Linked DNA regions of Homo sapiens: all the other regions are linked to region 2. The links are contacts of gene promoters, found by promoter capture Hi-C in blood cells and fetal thymus (Javierre and others, 2016). All regions are on one chromosome and are shown on one strand. Each heading gives the region's core, a stretch centred on a gene start or on the middle of the fragment in contact. The rest is flanking DNA. Distances are from core to core; before and after follow the strand shown.

Region 1 (2,700 bases), core at 88-2,587, 2.0 Mb after region 2:
CCATGTTAGCCAGGATGGTCTCGATCTCCTGACCTTGTGATCCGCCTGCCTCGGCCTCCCAAAGAGCTGGTATTACAGGTGAGCCACTGTGCCCAGCTGGAACTTTAAGTGTATTATAACGCCTAAACAATGTCCAGGAATCTTGAATTCTATCTTGTCACTCCTGACATGGGAATTACATGTATCGAGTACATATTGCATGCCAAGCACTGTGCCAAGGATGTTCCAAGGTCATTCTCTTACATGATTCTCACAACAGGTTTTTTTTTTTAGGTAGTTACTATCATTATCCCCATTCATTAATGAGGGAATAAAGCTCAGAGAGCTTCCGCCATTGGCTAAGATGCAATGGTATTTAAGCCATGCTCTGCCACTAATGGAAATGGAAAAGTAATGAAAGAAAATAAAGAAATGAAAGAAAATCAAGATTATCTTTGCCCTCTGAAGCAGAGGTCAATACTGTGGGAACAAATCCTGACTCTGTCCCTTACTCACTGTGTACTTTTGAGCAACTTCTTCAGCCTCTCTGAACAGTTTTCTATCTATAAAACAGGGATGGTGATACCGCCTTCCCACTCCAATCTGGCTAGTGAGAATCGCATATGAGACCATATGCTGTATCAGTTACAGTTCTTTGATGGCAAGCAACAGAAATTGGTTTAGCCAGCAAAAGGAAAAAAAGGGATTCACTAGAAGGGTATTTGGAGACTTCCACAATTTATGGGAAGGCTGTAAAGTCAAGTAGGAACAAGGATCAGGAATCAAGGAACTGACAGAGAATGTTCGTCAGGGTCTGTGTCCGGTTATTTTTTGCATGGTTATAAAGAAACACCTGAGGCTGGTTAATTTATAAAGAAAAGAGGTTGAATTGGCTCATGGTTCTGCAGGTTGTGCCGGCATGGCTCTGGCATCTGCTTCTGGTGAGGGTGTCAGGCACTGTAAAATCATGGCAGAAGGCAAAGTGGGAGCAGGCATATCATGTGGCAAGAGCAAGAGACAGAGACAGAGATGGCGGAAGTCCCAGAGTTTTAAACAACCAGATCTCACATGAGCTAACTGAGCAAGGACTCCGTGATCACCAGCAGGATGGCGCTAAACCACTCATGAGAAATCCACCCTCACGATCCAATACCTCCCACCAGGCCCCACCTCCAACAATGGGAATCATATTTCAACATGAAATTTGGAGGGGACAAACATGCACAACATATCAGGGTCCACTGCTCTTGGGCCATTTTTCCATCTCTGAGTCACTAGGCTCATGATTGGAAGTCCTGGGTGAAAGCTGACTTGCTCAATCAGACTCTCACTTGCTCACTTTGAAATGCACTGTAATATTAAGAAGAAGGTTCTGGAAGGGACTCCTTTGGCCTTATAGTGGAAAGACAGAACACTTTGACCATGCCCATGAGAAAAAGATAATTTCTGAACAAGAAATCAGGATACTGTTAGAATTGGGGTAGTGGGATTGGAATGCAGCATGCAGTGGGGGAGACAAATGTTGACTACACTATTAAAGGTCATGCAAACATAAAGTAGTGGTAATATGTTCATAAAAAGCAACTTTATGCAGTGTGCCTTATATTGTCTTTAGCAGAGTTCAAACAGTGAGAAACAGCATAGCAAGGGATTAAGGTGACAATCTGCAATTGAGCTGCCCGGGTTGAAATACCAGTCAGCTACTTACTAGCTGAGTTTCCTTAGCACACACTTAGCCTCTCTCAAGTCTCAGTTTTCACACCTGTGAAATAGCGAGGATGATGATAATAGCAGTTCATACCTCCCGGGGCACCATGAGGATTAAATGAGCTAAGTTACATGAAGGATTCAGAACACTGCAAGGCACATAGAAAGTACCAGTACCCTCCTTGGATGCGGGAAGTGGGAGTCCTGCTCTAGGCCCCAGGTGTAAGTGGCCTAAGTCCCCTCCCAGGGAGGGCAGGGTCTGCAGTAGTGACAGGTGGGATGCTCAAGGCCTACCTCATGGACCCCCCCTTGCCCCCAGGGTTTCCCCTCCAGGTTGCTCTCCAGCCCACTATCCCACATGTGTCCACTAGCTGCCCAGAGGAGCCCTGAATCTCACGCACGGGTCATCTGGGGAGATCCCAATTCCAGGAGACCAGCAGATAGCTCCCTGCCAGCTGGCACAGCATTTCTTTCATGTGATTGCACAAGATTGACAAGTAGAATGGGGCTAACACACCAATTTTGATGATTCTCACTCAAGCGCGGCACAAGACAACATCAGATTTCTGGACTACTATTAAACTAAACACTGTGGGCCCATGCCAGGCTCTCACCCACCCATGTGCCCCTCACCATGCTACCTCTGGTCTACAGCATCTTAGGATAGTGGGGGTGGCAACTGACATTCTATACATTGTGTCTCCTAATGCAGTCACCCGACAACCTCTACTAGCTTCATACCACACATTAGGCAATCCTCTTGGGTGCCCACACCTATCTCCTGAAGGGCTTTTTCAAGACCATTCATCCCCACACCAATGGGCCTTTCCAATTGGTGAGCTCACCTACCTCTGATTGACATGGTGATGTTGACCTGCATTCTCTCTTAAGCCTTGCATGAATGAGGACACTCTTCTTGGACACTCTTCTCATGCATTCCTAATTCCTCACTGGTAGTGGTATGTGGAAGGCAGAGGTGAGGTCAACATACTAAGAGTTCTTGCAGCTACCACC
Region 2 (2,700 bases), core at 35-2,534:
GGCATAGACTATGTGGTACTGGATAGGGGCAAAGCAAAGAAGTTCTAATGTGGTCTTAAAAGTGGAATGAACGCAAATCCCTCCAGCCAAGAGATTCTCATCAAAGACCCCCTATAGCAGTTTAAAACACAGACTCCGGAGTCAGAATGCCTGTGTTTAAATGCTAGCTTTGCCTCCGCGCCTGTTTTCTCATTGTTAAATAAGGATAAAAACAGTATCTCCCTCAAAGAACATAAAATAAACAATACACGCAAAACAACTTACAGCTGTACCTAGCACACTGTAAAGCTCCCCAAATTATCAGCCGTTATCTCCTTCCCCCTCTCCAATTTTCTTTTTCTTCTATCTGACTATCTTTACACATCTGGGAAGGCTCACGGGATTAAAAACCCCACATGGAAGTTTAGCCGGCTTAGTGGTTACACAGGCGTGCTTTGAGAAAAACAAAAACAAACCTGAGTTTGAACTCCAGCTCTGCTTCTTACTAGCTGAGTCACTTTAGGGCCTCTAACTGCTCTGTGTCTAAGTTTCTCTACCTGCAAAGTGGAGAGGAACCCATTGCACTTGCTGAGTTGCGGGGAGGATAACAGATAAACGGCCGGCTGCTGGGCCCGGCACATCTTCCATTCTCAATAAATACTGGTTTTAGCCTGAAGGACTCAGGGGCATCAAGCGTGGAAATGGGCAGCTCCAGGTTGGACACAGGGTCTCTGGGGCCTGCTAATCTGGGGATGCAGGAACCTGCTGTCCCCGTTATGAGCTGCGTAACCTCGGGCAGGTGACTCCCCATCTCTGGGCCTCAGTTTCCTCACCCGTAACCACGCTCCCAGCAGCAGCTACCCATAACCAGTGAGGCTAATGCGATCATGCCGGTGCAACGCCCGAGTCAAGGCCAACCACACTCAACGGGACCTTCGGCTTCCCACACCTCAGGGGCGAGGCCGGGGCTGCAGGTTCCTCAGACTCCCCGGGGGCACCCTCGGCATCGCGGGAGGCGGACCTGCGTCCTTCGAGGCTCCCGGCCCCAGCCCCGGCGCCCCGCCTCGGCTGGCCAGGTGCCTAGGAAAACGCTCAGGGCGCCAGGCGCGAGCAGGCCTTGCCGCGGGACCGCTCTCAGGGCCTCGGCCTCGGCCTCGGGTCCCACGCCGGGCTTCGGAGCTGCGCACCCCCAGCATCCCGCGCCCGGGCCCCAGCGGCCGAGATCCGGCGCCGCCCGAGCATCCAGAGCCCCGAGCTCCCCACTCACCGCCTTCTTCATGGTGGCCGCCATCTTGGGACTGGACTACCGCAGGCGGCGGGGAGGGCCGCAATGGCGCGCTTCGCCCCCGAGCGTTCTCTCGCTCCCGGTCGGCCTAGAACTCCCCGCAAAAATACAACACTGTCTCCACATTCCGTCCTCTTGGACTTTTGGCCAGTGAGTCCAAACGGCTGGGACGTAGGGAGGAAATGTGACCTGGAAGGACTTGGTACATGCCAATTAAAGGGACAGGCAACCCCCGTGGACCGACATAAACACGGGGGTGTGGCGAACGGCTCCGGCCGCGGGCAGCAGGGGGCGCGCCCAAGGCTCAGCGCGGCGGGGCCCAGCTGGGGCAGGATCAAAGGGCTCGGGGAATTTTTCTCCATCCGTCCCACAGACTTGCATTGAGAAAGCTAACCTACCTGTAAAACAGCTAGGAACGAATGGCCTTGGCAAATAGGGTGTGAGATTTATGTGCCATGATAATTCAGGTGGTGTAAAGGAGGTACTCCTATCTTTTAATGTAATTTTTTTTTAATTTAAATTCGGGGGGTATGTGTGCCGGTTTATTACATGGATATACTGCATGGTGCTAAGGTTTGGGTTTCTAATGATCCCGTTGCCCAAGTAGTGAACATAGTACCCCACAGGTAATTTTTCAACCCCTTTCCCCTGCCTCCTTCCCCGTTTTTGGAATCCGTAGCATTTATTGTTCCCACCTTTATGTCCACGAGTACCCAGTGTTTAGCTGTCACTCATAAGTGGGAACATGAGTGGTTGGTTTTCTGTTTCTGTGTTAATTCACTTAGGATAATGATGTCCAGCTGCATCCATGTTGCTGCAAAGGACATGATTTTGTTCTTTTTTATGGCTGCATAGTATTCCATGGTGTATATGGACCACATTTTCTTTATCCTATCCACCACTGATGGGCATCTGGGTTGATTCCATGCCTTTGCTGTTGTGACTAGGCAATCCTATTAATTAATTTACAGCAATATTACTGAACAATTACTGTATATTCTGACACTTGTGTCTCCCAATTAGTAATTTTTTTTTTTTTTTTTGCCTTAGGACCTCTTTATACTCCTGGAAATTACTGAGGACTCCAAAGAACTTTTGTTTATGTGGGTTATTTATCGATATTTGCTGTATTAGAAATTAAAGCAGAATTTTTAAAATGTATTTATTAATTCATTTAAAATAATATAAAACTCCATTCCATGGTAATAAAAATCACACTTTAAAAATAACTATATTTTCTAAGACAAAAATAAATTGAGAAGATTGTCATCATTTTACATTTTCACTGATCTCTTTAATATCAGGCTTAATGGAAGGTTACATTCTCATGTCTACTTCTGCATTCAGTCTCTCCAAATACACTGTTTAGTTGCCTAGTTGTAGGTATGAAAAACCCCAGCCTCATACAAATCATGTAGTTGGGAAAGGGAGGCCCT
Region 3 (2,700 bases), core at 121-2,620, 2.0 Mb after region 2:
AGAGGCTGGTCAGAGAAGCCTCTCTAAGGAAACTATATTTGAGCAAAGAAGCTCTGGCAAGAATGTTCTAGAGAGACGGAAGAGCAAGTGCAAAGGCCCTGAGGCAGCAATAGCATGCTGAGCATACTTGAGGACCATCAAGGAGGAAGTCACTGTGGCTGGGGCAGAAGGATGGCAGGGAAAGACAGTTGATGAGAAAGATGGAGACGTGACAGGAGCCAGATCAAGTCAGATCAAGTCATTTACTCAAGGATGATAAACCCTTGAAGGAAGCAGCATCATCTGGCACAGGCTTTGACACAATCCCTCTGGCTGCTGAGTGGAGTGGAGACTGTCCAGGGGAAGGAGGAGGAAGGAAAACCAGTGAGGAGGCAATTGTGATGTTTTAGCCAAGAAATGATGCTGCCTAGAACCAGGGTTATAATTGTGGGGGTTATATCCAGATTCTGGGTATATTTAGAAGGTGGAGCTGACCAAATTTACGGAAGGAATGGATGAGGAGTGTGAGGGAAACAGAAGATTCAATGATGATTCCAACACATTGTCCTGAGGAACTGGGTGCATACTGGTGCATGCAGGCTGCTGGGTGCCCGTAGCAGCCTCATCACTTTCCTCCCCATCTGTGTACTGAATGGAAAGGACACCAACACAGAGGAGGGCAGAGCCACAGGAGGAAGGGGCTGCTGGATCCCTGAGTGACTGTGTGGAACCGAGCTCCCTGGGGATCTGCATCGCAGCACAGCAGGAGCTGAGATGTGAGGTGGGCCTCACAGATGCACTTGTTGTGTGCATGGGCATGGACAGCATCCTACAGAGATCATGAAGCCTCAAAAATGTCCTCATCAGGGCCACGATGAGACCAACAGTGGGCCTCAGGAAGGGCCGAGGCAGAGAACCACAGGGAGGAGTGGGTTTCTGGTAGTCACAGTGACAACAGAAATCAAGATGTGGCCATTCCTGTGCTGTTGCTTTGCAGGACTCTGGGGCTGCCTCTCAGAAAGTTTGACCCCTCAGCCTTCTCCTGATTCAAAATTCCCAATATCCTTCCAGGACTTTCTCTTTGGCTTAACTTAACCAGAGTTAATTTCTGCCATTTGCAACCAAAGCCCCTTAATTAATAAAAATTGGTTAAACTGGCTTTTATGTGTGAGCACAGGATTCTAAATACCATTCTAAGTGTGGGGGAAAAACATGTATTCTGAGAATCAACTAGCAAATTCACAAATGAACTTTTGGACGCCACCCATTTCTCCGTTGGAGGCTGACGACTCCTTGCATGGCGTCGCTCCTCAGAGAGACAGCTTCTGCCAGTACAAGGTGGGGAAGTGTCAAATACGATTAAAACTTGATTGCTAATTCAAATGCTATTGTGCTTGATATGCTTGTCATGTAAAAGTGCACAATGTAGCTTAATAAAATTGATAGAACTCCCTTTGAAGATATTTTTGTCACAGAGGCACTCAATAAAACTGTTTCCATTAGGCTCTTCTGCCTCTTCCATATTTTGTTAGTGACACGTTTTCATGAAGTAGTCCAGGGCCCAGCAAGGCATGTTTCGCAAAGAATGTTTGGGGAAGAGGAGGAGTGTTTAGACTTTCCTTTTTATTTTGCTGTAATTAGTCAGACCTCTACCAGCTGCCTAATGATGCAGTTCACGCAGGTCACTAGGAGACCAAAGCAAAGCTGTTTTGCATCAGAGTCATGTGTGATCAAATAAATAACCAACAGAGGTTACTGTAACTAACTCAAAACTAGCTAATTATAAGTACGGAGTCCAAAAGTTAATCTGTTCAAGAAAATGTTTCTTTTCTTCCTGCCTAAGTCCAACAAGTGTTTACAGCACGGGATCCAGGAGAAGTACAGATTCACATTCACTAACAAGATGGTAGAGTTTGACTCCCTGTCTTTGGAAACAGCCAGCATGGAACAGAAGTGGGAATGTGATTTCTCAGTAGTCATACAGACGAGCCCTGGAATGATGCCGGCCTGAGTTCAAAGCTGGGTGATCCTGGGCAAATTACATACCCCTGGAGATCAAATCTCAAGTCTGTAAAACAGGGAAATACTACAACTACTACTACCTCAACTACTACTACTACTATTTAACAGTAGTACTGCTAATGAATCGCAATACTAATTTGATTGTAATTGACGGAAAATCCAATTCAAACTGATTTTGAAAAGAAAAAGGAGATTAATTGACTCAAATATTTGAAAGTATTGAAGAAAGAGCTGGCTGCTAGCACAGCCCGATTTGGGAGCTCCGAACTCTCACCACTACCTGAGATCTCTTAGCACAGCCCTCACCACATCAGCTTCACCCTCAGGCTGACCAGCTCCCTACCGTGGCCAGCTGCTCTTGGCTTCCCTGCTTTCTAATGAGAAATAGAACTCCTCTCCCCAGCCATCCAAACTTAGGCCCAAATTGTATCATGTCCCCATCCCTAAACTCTCCCCATTCAGTGGTGCTCTGATTGTCCATGCACGGTGGAGCCATGGATGACATCAGGGCTTCTCAAACCACAGGGATGGATTGCAAGGAAGAGAGAGTTCCCCAGAGGGAAATGATGTCTGTTACCTGGACAAGGGAGGATGCACACTGGGCAGAAAAAATGTCCACCACCAATACCTGCTTTATTAGAACTGTTGGAAGGTTCCATAAGACAATATTGGCCTAACACTTGTGTCAGTTAAGAACTC
Region 4 (2,700 bases), core at 74-2,573, 1.9 Mb after region 2:
TCAATTGATGCTACAGGCCCCCCACCACCTCCACCCCCGCCCGCAGTTGTAACAATCAAAAATGTCTTTAAAGGTCCCCTGGGAGCAAAACTGTTCCTGGTTGAGGACCACAGGATTACACAGATTTCTCTTTCCCAACTATTCTGTTTGGTTTTCCCAGATATTCCATTGTTGACTTTACCCAGCCTCCAACGCAGGATCCCAGGAGCCATTTAATTTTTAAATCCTTGGTCAACCATTAATACATATATGTTGTATCTATAGCTGTACTCTATTAATAAATCCTTCCATTTCCTTTTGGAAGAGAGGAAATGATTTTCTGCAGGTTATCACAAAATATCGGCTTGCAGGACGTACCAGGAAGCCAAGGAGGCTCCTTTCTGGAGAGTTCGGCCACTCTCCCCAGCACCAGAGCGTGTGCTGCACTACCTAACCTTTGCAGCTGCACAACGATGATCCGTCATTTCAGAAAAATAGGGAAAGAGCCTCGAATCCTTACTGCCCTCTAGAGAAATTCCGGCAGAAGAGCTCAATCTGTCGCAGTCAGCAGAAAAACAACGCTGCCAGAGGCAACTGCGGCTGGCAGTTGTAAAGCAAACAATTTATTTGCTGAATTTTTTGAAAGACGAGTCTAGCAGACCCTTCCTTTACAATCTCACACCTGAACAAGAAGCCGATGTGGGCTGGCACGTTGACGCAATCATAATTTTGCCAATTCCAGGTCTACCGCCAACGCGATGATTTTATGCCCACTGATGAATCAAATTCTGATATTCTACAAAGTAACTGTAGATCATGTTTTAAATGCAAATTCTCAAGTTTATACAAATGTCTTCTCTAGCCTTTGTTTACTGGCCTACCAACGGTGATATAAACAAAGATTTCTTTTTCTTGCTCCTCAGAAAAAACAGGACTGAAAAAATATTCACTAATTCTTCATGTTTGTATTAGGTTTTGGTGGGTGAGGACTTTTGGACACATTTTGGAGTTTAGAGTGACTTTTTTTTAATCTTCTGGGGGTGGGGCATGGTGGCTCATGCCTGTATTCCCAGCACTTTGGGAGGCCAAGGCAGAAAGATCACTTGAGCTCAGGAGTTCAAGACCAGCCTGGGCAACGTAGTGAAACCTCATCTCTACAAAAAATGTAAAAATTAGCCAGGCGTGGTGGCCCATGTTTGTAGTCGTAGCTACTCAGGAGGCTGAGGCAGGAGGATCCCCCTTGAGCCCAGGAGGTTGCAGTGAGCTATGATTGTACTGCTACACTCCAGCCTGGCAACAGTATGAGATCCTATCTAAAAACAACAACAACAAAAAAAAATTTAACTAACTTTGGTTGCTGTTGTTTTGATAAAGACTTTCCTGTTACTTAATGGCCATCTATATTCCAAGGAGAGCTTCGTCACTGAGATTAAAGTGAGCTTTCCCTACCAAAGTCCTGAAAAAGTTGTGCCAGGTCTAACTCACGTTTCTAGCACAGCTGAACATCAAAAGAAGTAAGTTTGAAAAGTATATGCTTGAAGACATACACTAGATAGAAAATCTTGCAGGTTTAATCAGAACTTTCAAATCATTGTTTTCATTATGACAGGCAACAGCAAAAAATGCTGAATGTTTATGCCTAATGGGTTTGCCCTTTGCCAGACAAATCCTTTTAGCTATGGCAGGAAACATAATTTTTATGGGCTCTTGGAGAGAGTGCACACTGCCCTCTAATGGTGACATGTGCTCACAATTTTATGGGGTCCCTTGATCAGGTTTCAGGAGGCTCTAAGTAGAATGTTATTACCAAAGGTAGACCATAATCCTGTAGATTGATGGCAGCCAATGGTTATTTTTACTATTTCCATTTTTTCCACCCTCTTGACAAGGAAATAAGATATTTGGTCCTTTCCTTTGTTATCAATAGCTGTGAGAATAATTTTGCTAAGATGGAAATATGTCAGAGTAATACTTAGAATATTTGAACTCCATCAGGCACAAAATAATATGCACACACATACCACAGGTATAAACCCTCAATGAAATAATGGTTTACTGCAGAATAAAAGACATTTCTCTATGGATATGAACTATCAATAAATAAGCTACTAAGGTATCAGAAACTTTCAGATTCAAAATTAACAAAAATAAATAAATAAAATAACATGGGAGGGTGGGAGGATTTGGGGGTTTAAGGGATGCTTTAGCTAAAATCTATACAGATATTCTTTAAATGAATGAGACAGAAAATAGAATAAATTTTCCCCCAAGCCTTTTTGAAAGTCAAGATACAGATACTGGTTCATTTTGACCTCTTTCAAAATATATGAATTTATCATATTTAATTATTTTCATCTACCAAATGACAAATGCCTCCTAACTTTGCTAATTGCCCACAGCTAAGAAAGGGAAACAGGGGAGAATAAAAGCCAGCACATTCACTGTCACAGCAAAGCTCCTGGAACTGTATCCAAACAGGAGCTGTTGATCTGTGGAAATGTAAATGTCATTTCTAAATATAGCATTGGGAAGCCAGAGAATCAGCATTTCTATGGATGAAACACCTTTTTGGGAAGTAACACGTGCAAGCCAATGCTTCCCTATGACACATGAGAGAGACAGGAATCTTCCCGCCCAGCCCTGCATCTGCAGGGGCTTAGAAATGCCACGTGCGTGCACAGAACCCTGCTCATTCTCCCCGACTTCCTTAACCTGCTCCTG
Region 5 (2,700 bases), core at 152-2,651, 1.9 Mb after region 2:
CCACCCCGGATAAAATTAGGTCAATATTGATCGAGAAAGCCAAACGACGTTCAGACACACTGCTATGTACACCCATTAAGCTGTGATGTAATTGACATTTCAAAATTAAGACCACGGGCATAGAGATGAGAACATGACTCACAGATATTTCATATACACTTGTTTATTGACTCTGTGTGTTATATATATACACACACAAACCATGCATTAGTCACTTGATAATTCAAGATTAGGTGCACATAAGCCAACAGTATCATTTCTATTTAAATAAAATGAGTGTGTGTATGCCAGTGTTTTGTAATAAAAGCTTACCTGAGTCAAATGTTTTACTATGTTATAGGCTTTGGACTAAGTATTCTATATATACAAAGTCTGTTTAAAATAAAAACTTATAGGCTGACATGTAAAGAAACTGATGAGAGGTAAAGCAAAGCACCCAAACAGCATAGCTGGAAGAGGCAGAGCTAGGACTCTAACACTTGGAAACAGTACAACAACATCTAACACTAGATACTGTTGGTGTTGGTGATATTACCAGCTAGTATATAGAATACACTACAAATACCCAATGAATATAATAGTAAAAAAATTTTAAAGTTAAGTGTTCAGGTACTGGAACTGGAATAATTCTAAAGAATAAAATTTAGTCCCATTTGCTACGATGAACATAACCTTTGAGATGAATACTAGCCCACCAGATCCAAGCCCAGATGATGTGCATCATCTTGTCCGAAAAAAAAAAAGTATCTCTAGTGTTTTAGAAACTGTGAATTGCTGAACACAGCTTATAAAAATACCACAGAAAGAAAATAGGTTCAATAAAAGGCTAAATTCTAATTAAAATAAATAGAAACACAACTAATAGCAGAAGGCAAGAGAAAAACATTGGGGAAAAATAAAAGCTGTGTGACTTAATCTTTTTATCATCACATGGAAACAAATAAACCATGATAAGTGAATTTTTCTTTTCCCTCCTCCTCTCTTTAGTTGATATTGCTCAAGAAAAAAAAATCTGTCCTTTTCCTAATTTGAAATAGTGTATCTGGGATAGTTCAAGAAAAATAACAAAACACTACTCTTGACAAAGCATAGATTTGCATTAATATTTTCTTCCAATATTTTCTTGACATTGAAACTCAAAGATGGATGATTTGGAGGTTCTTAAGGCTTTTGCTGGATGGAAACACTCAAAGCTCTCTCTGCTAAGGAAGAGAAGTCGGTAGCCCAGGGACATCCGCATGTCACTGTCAGGGCCATGCCCTGATCACCTGAGTGCTTGATGCTGGACTGCAACATCAGCAGCATCTGCATCTTTTTGCCTAAGGGATTTCTGTGGTCTCTGGAGACCAGTTTGCCATAGGCACGGTAGTCCAGAAGTACCAAGAATTAATGGTCCTCTAGGAGCTACCCTCAACAACTGACAATGTTGGTGTATAAATACCCCAACTCCCTCCCTCCCCAGAAAGAAAAACTCTGAGGCATTTTTCTCCACTGGCTTCCAGAGTTTTCCAGGAGACATTAAGCTCCAGTCTTCCATGGCGTTAGCTGTCTTGATGACTCAACTTTCCTTCCCTGGCTCACTTCCCCACCTTCTTCTGGGTATTTCCTGGTACAACCTCCCAAATAAACAACTTGTACTCAAATCTTTATCTCAAGTTCTGCTTCTGGGGAGAACCCTAAATAACAAAGAATCTATCCAAGTATTGAGGGGGAAGAAACTCTCAAGGACCTAGTTTTGTTCAGCTTCCTGATAGGGCAGGGGAGGTCAGAGAGGGAGGATGGGGTGATGCAAGGAGATTAGAAGGAGAAAATAAAGTTTATTTCTCACCCCATATCCTCTTTTCCAAACTCTCCCATGGGAATAGTTTCCACAAAAAGAAGCTGGATGAATAGTGATTCTGTAGTTTACATACACATAGGAGACTCCACAAGGAATTGCATTTCCTCCTGCAAAGTCCTCATTTAAGGCATTTATTCAATAAATATACATCTACAGAGAGGCAAAATAATTACATGGGCAGGGCTATGGCTTTTGGAACCAGACTGGTATGTTGCCACTGAGCTTGAGTCTCTGGCTCTCCTGATATTCTTTGAGCAAGCCAGTACTCTTGTAATAAATCATCCTTTTGTCTAAATTACCAGAGTTCATTTCTGTTGCTTACACCCAACAACCTTCACTGATAAGATGTCCCCTTCTGTTACTAGACTCTAGTACCTCATAGGGCAGTGTCTCTGCCTTAATCACCTGTATGACCAAGGACTGGATTTTAACCAAGGTCAGAGTACTAGAACTTTTGAGAATGTGTCTGTGCATGTGTGTGTGTACGTGTGTGTGTGAATATGCACATGTGTTAAGGGAGAGAGAAAACGGAGTATAGTTTGAAACAAACATTTCAAGTTTATTTCAAAGTTTCATAATACAACTTTGTATTTGTAGAATAAAAGGTAATGTTTCATCACACAAAATAGAGCAAAACAGCTCTGCAAAAGCTTCCTGGTTCTTGAGACTCCTGGGATGGTACAGGGCAAATGCAAGGCTGAGTAGAAGTTAAGAGTGCTGTATCTAGCATCAGATAGATGTGGGTTCAAATCTAAGCCCATTGTTTACTAGCCAGTGTATGCCAAGAAATGCACTCCTTGCGTTCTCGCCTTTCTCACTGGCAAAAGGCAAAACTCACTGTTCCCATCTGACAGGGTTAT

What was found. Contacts are between HindIII fragments. The CHiCAGO score rates a contact against its expected background, and 5 or more counts as called.
Region 1: a contact is called between a fragment that was not itself captured here and the fragment with the promoter of PFDN4 in region 2, in 9 of 17 cell types (total B cells, naive B cells, naive CD4 T cells and 6 more). The highest score is 18.9, in total B cells.
Region 3: a fragment that was not itself captured here is called in contact with the fragment with the promoter of PFDN4 in region 2 in 2 of 17 cell types (naive B cells and naive CD4 T cells); the score reaches 7.2 in naive B cells.
Region 4: a contact is called between a fragment that was not itself captured here and the fragment with the promoter of PFDN4 in region 2, in 4 of 17 cell types (naive B cells, total B cells, total CD8 T cells and 1 more). The highest score is 14.3, in naive B cells.
Region 5: a contact is called between a fragment that was not itself captured here and the fragment with the promoter of PFDN4 in region 2, in 1 of 17 cell types (total B cells). The highest score is 7.5, in total B cells.

Annotation. Positions count from the first base shown.
Region 1 is chr20:52,234,768-52,237,467 of GRCh38, reverse strand. It overlaps LOC105372666 (a long non-coding RNA gene), which reads right to left. Exons shown (of 17, transcript XR_007067652.1): 2 at 2,536-2,699. Among named protein-coding and RNA genes, the nearest start is that of ZFP64, 44 kb to the right of the region's middle. The HindIII fragment of the contact is 6,502 bases long and covers 1-2,700 here.
Region 2 is chr20:54,206,671-54,209,370 of GRCh38, reverse strand. PFDN4 (prefoldin subunit 4) reads right to left here and starts at 1,284. Exons shown (of 4, transcript NM_002623.4): 1 at 1,247-1,284. The coding sequence starts at 1,270. LOC124904937 (a long non-coding RNA gene) reads left to right here and starts at 1,330. Exons shown (of 2, transcript XR_007067669.1): 1 at 1,330-1,414; 2 at 2,315-2,425. RefSeq lists enhancers at 253-1,069, 1,210-1,529, 1,070-1,887 and a silencer at 950-1,219. The HindIII fragment of the contact is 8,273 bases long and covers 1-2,700 here.
Region 3 is chr20:52,251,822-52,254,521 of GRCh38, reverse strand. The region is part of intron 2 of LOC105372666 (a long non-coding RNA gene); the gene reads right to left. Among named protein-coding and RNA genes, the nearest start is that of ZFP64, 61 kb to the right of the region's middle. The HindIII fragment of the contact is 3,750 bases long and covers 1-2,700 here.
Region 4 is chr20:52,311,344-52,314,043 of GRCh38, reverse strand. The region is part of intron 3 of LOC105372666 (a long non-coding RNA gene); the gene reads right to left. Among named protein-coding and RNA genes, the nearest start is that of ZFP64, 120 kb to the right of the region's middle. The HindIII fragment of the contact is 5,272 bases long and covers 1-2,700 here.
Region 5 is chr20:52,293,181-52,295,880 of GRCh38, reverse strand. All of the region lies in intron 2 of LOC105372666 (a long non-coding RNA gene), which reads right to left. Among named protein-coding and RNA genes, the nearest start is that of ZFP64, 100 kb to the right of the region's middle. The HindIII fragment of the contact is 2,183 bases long and covers 310-2,492 here.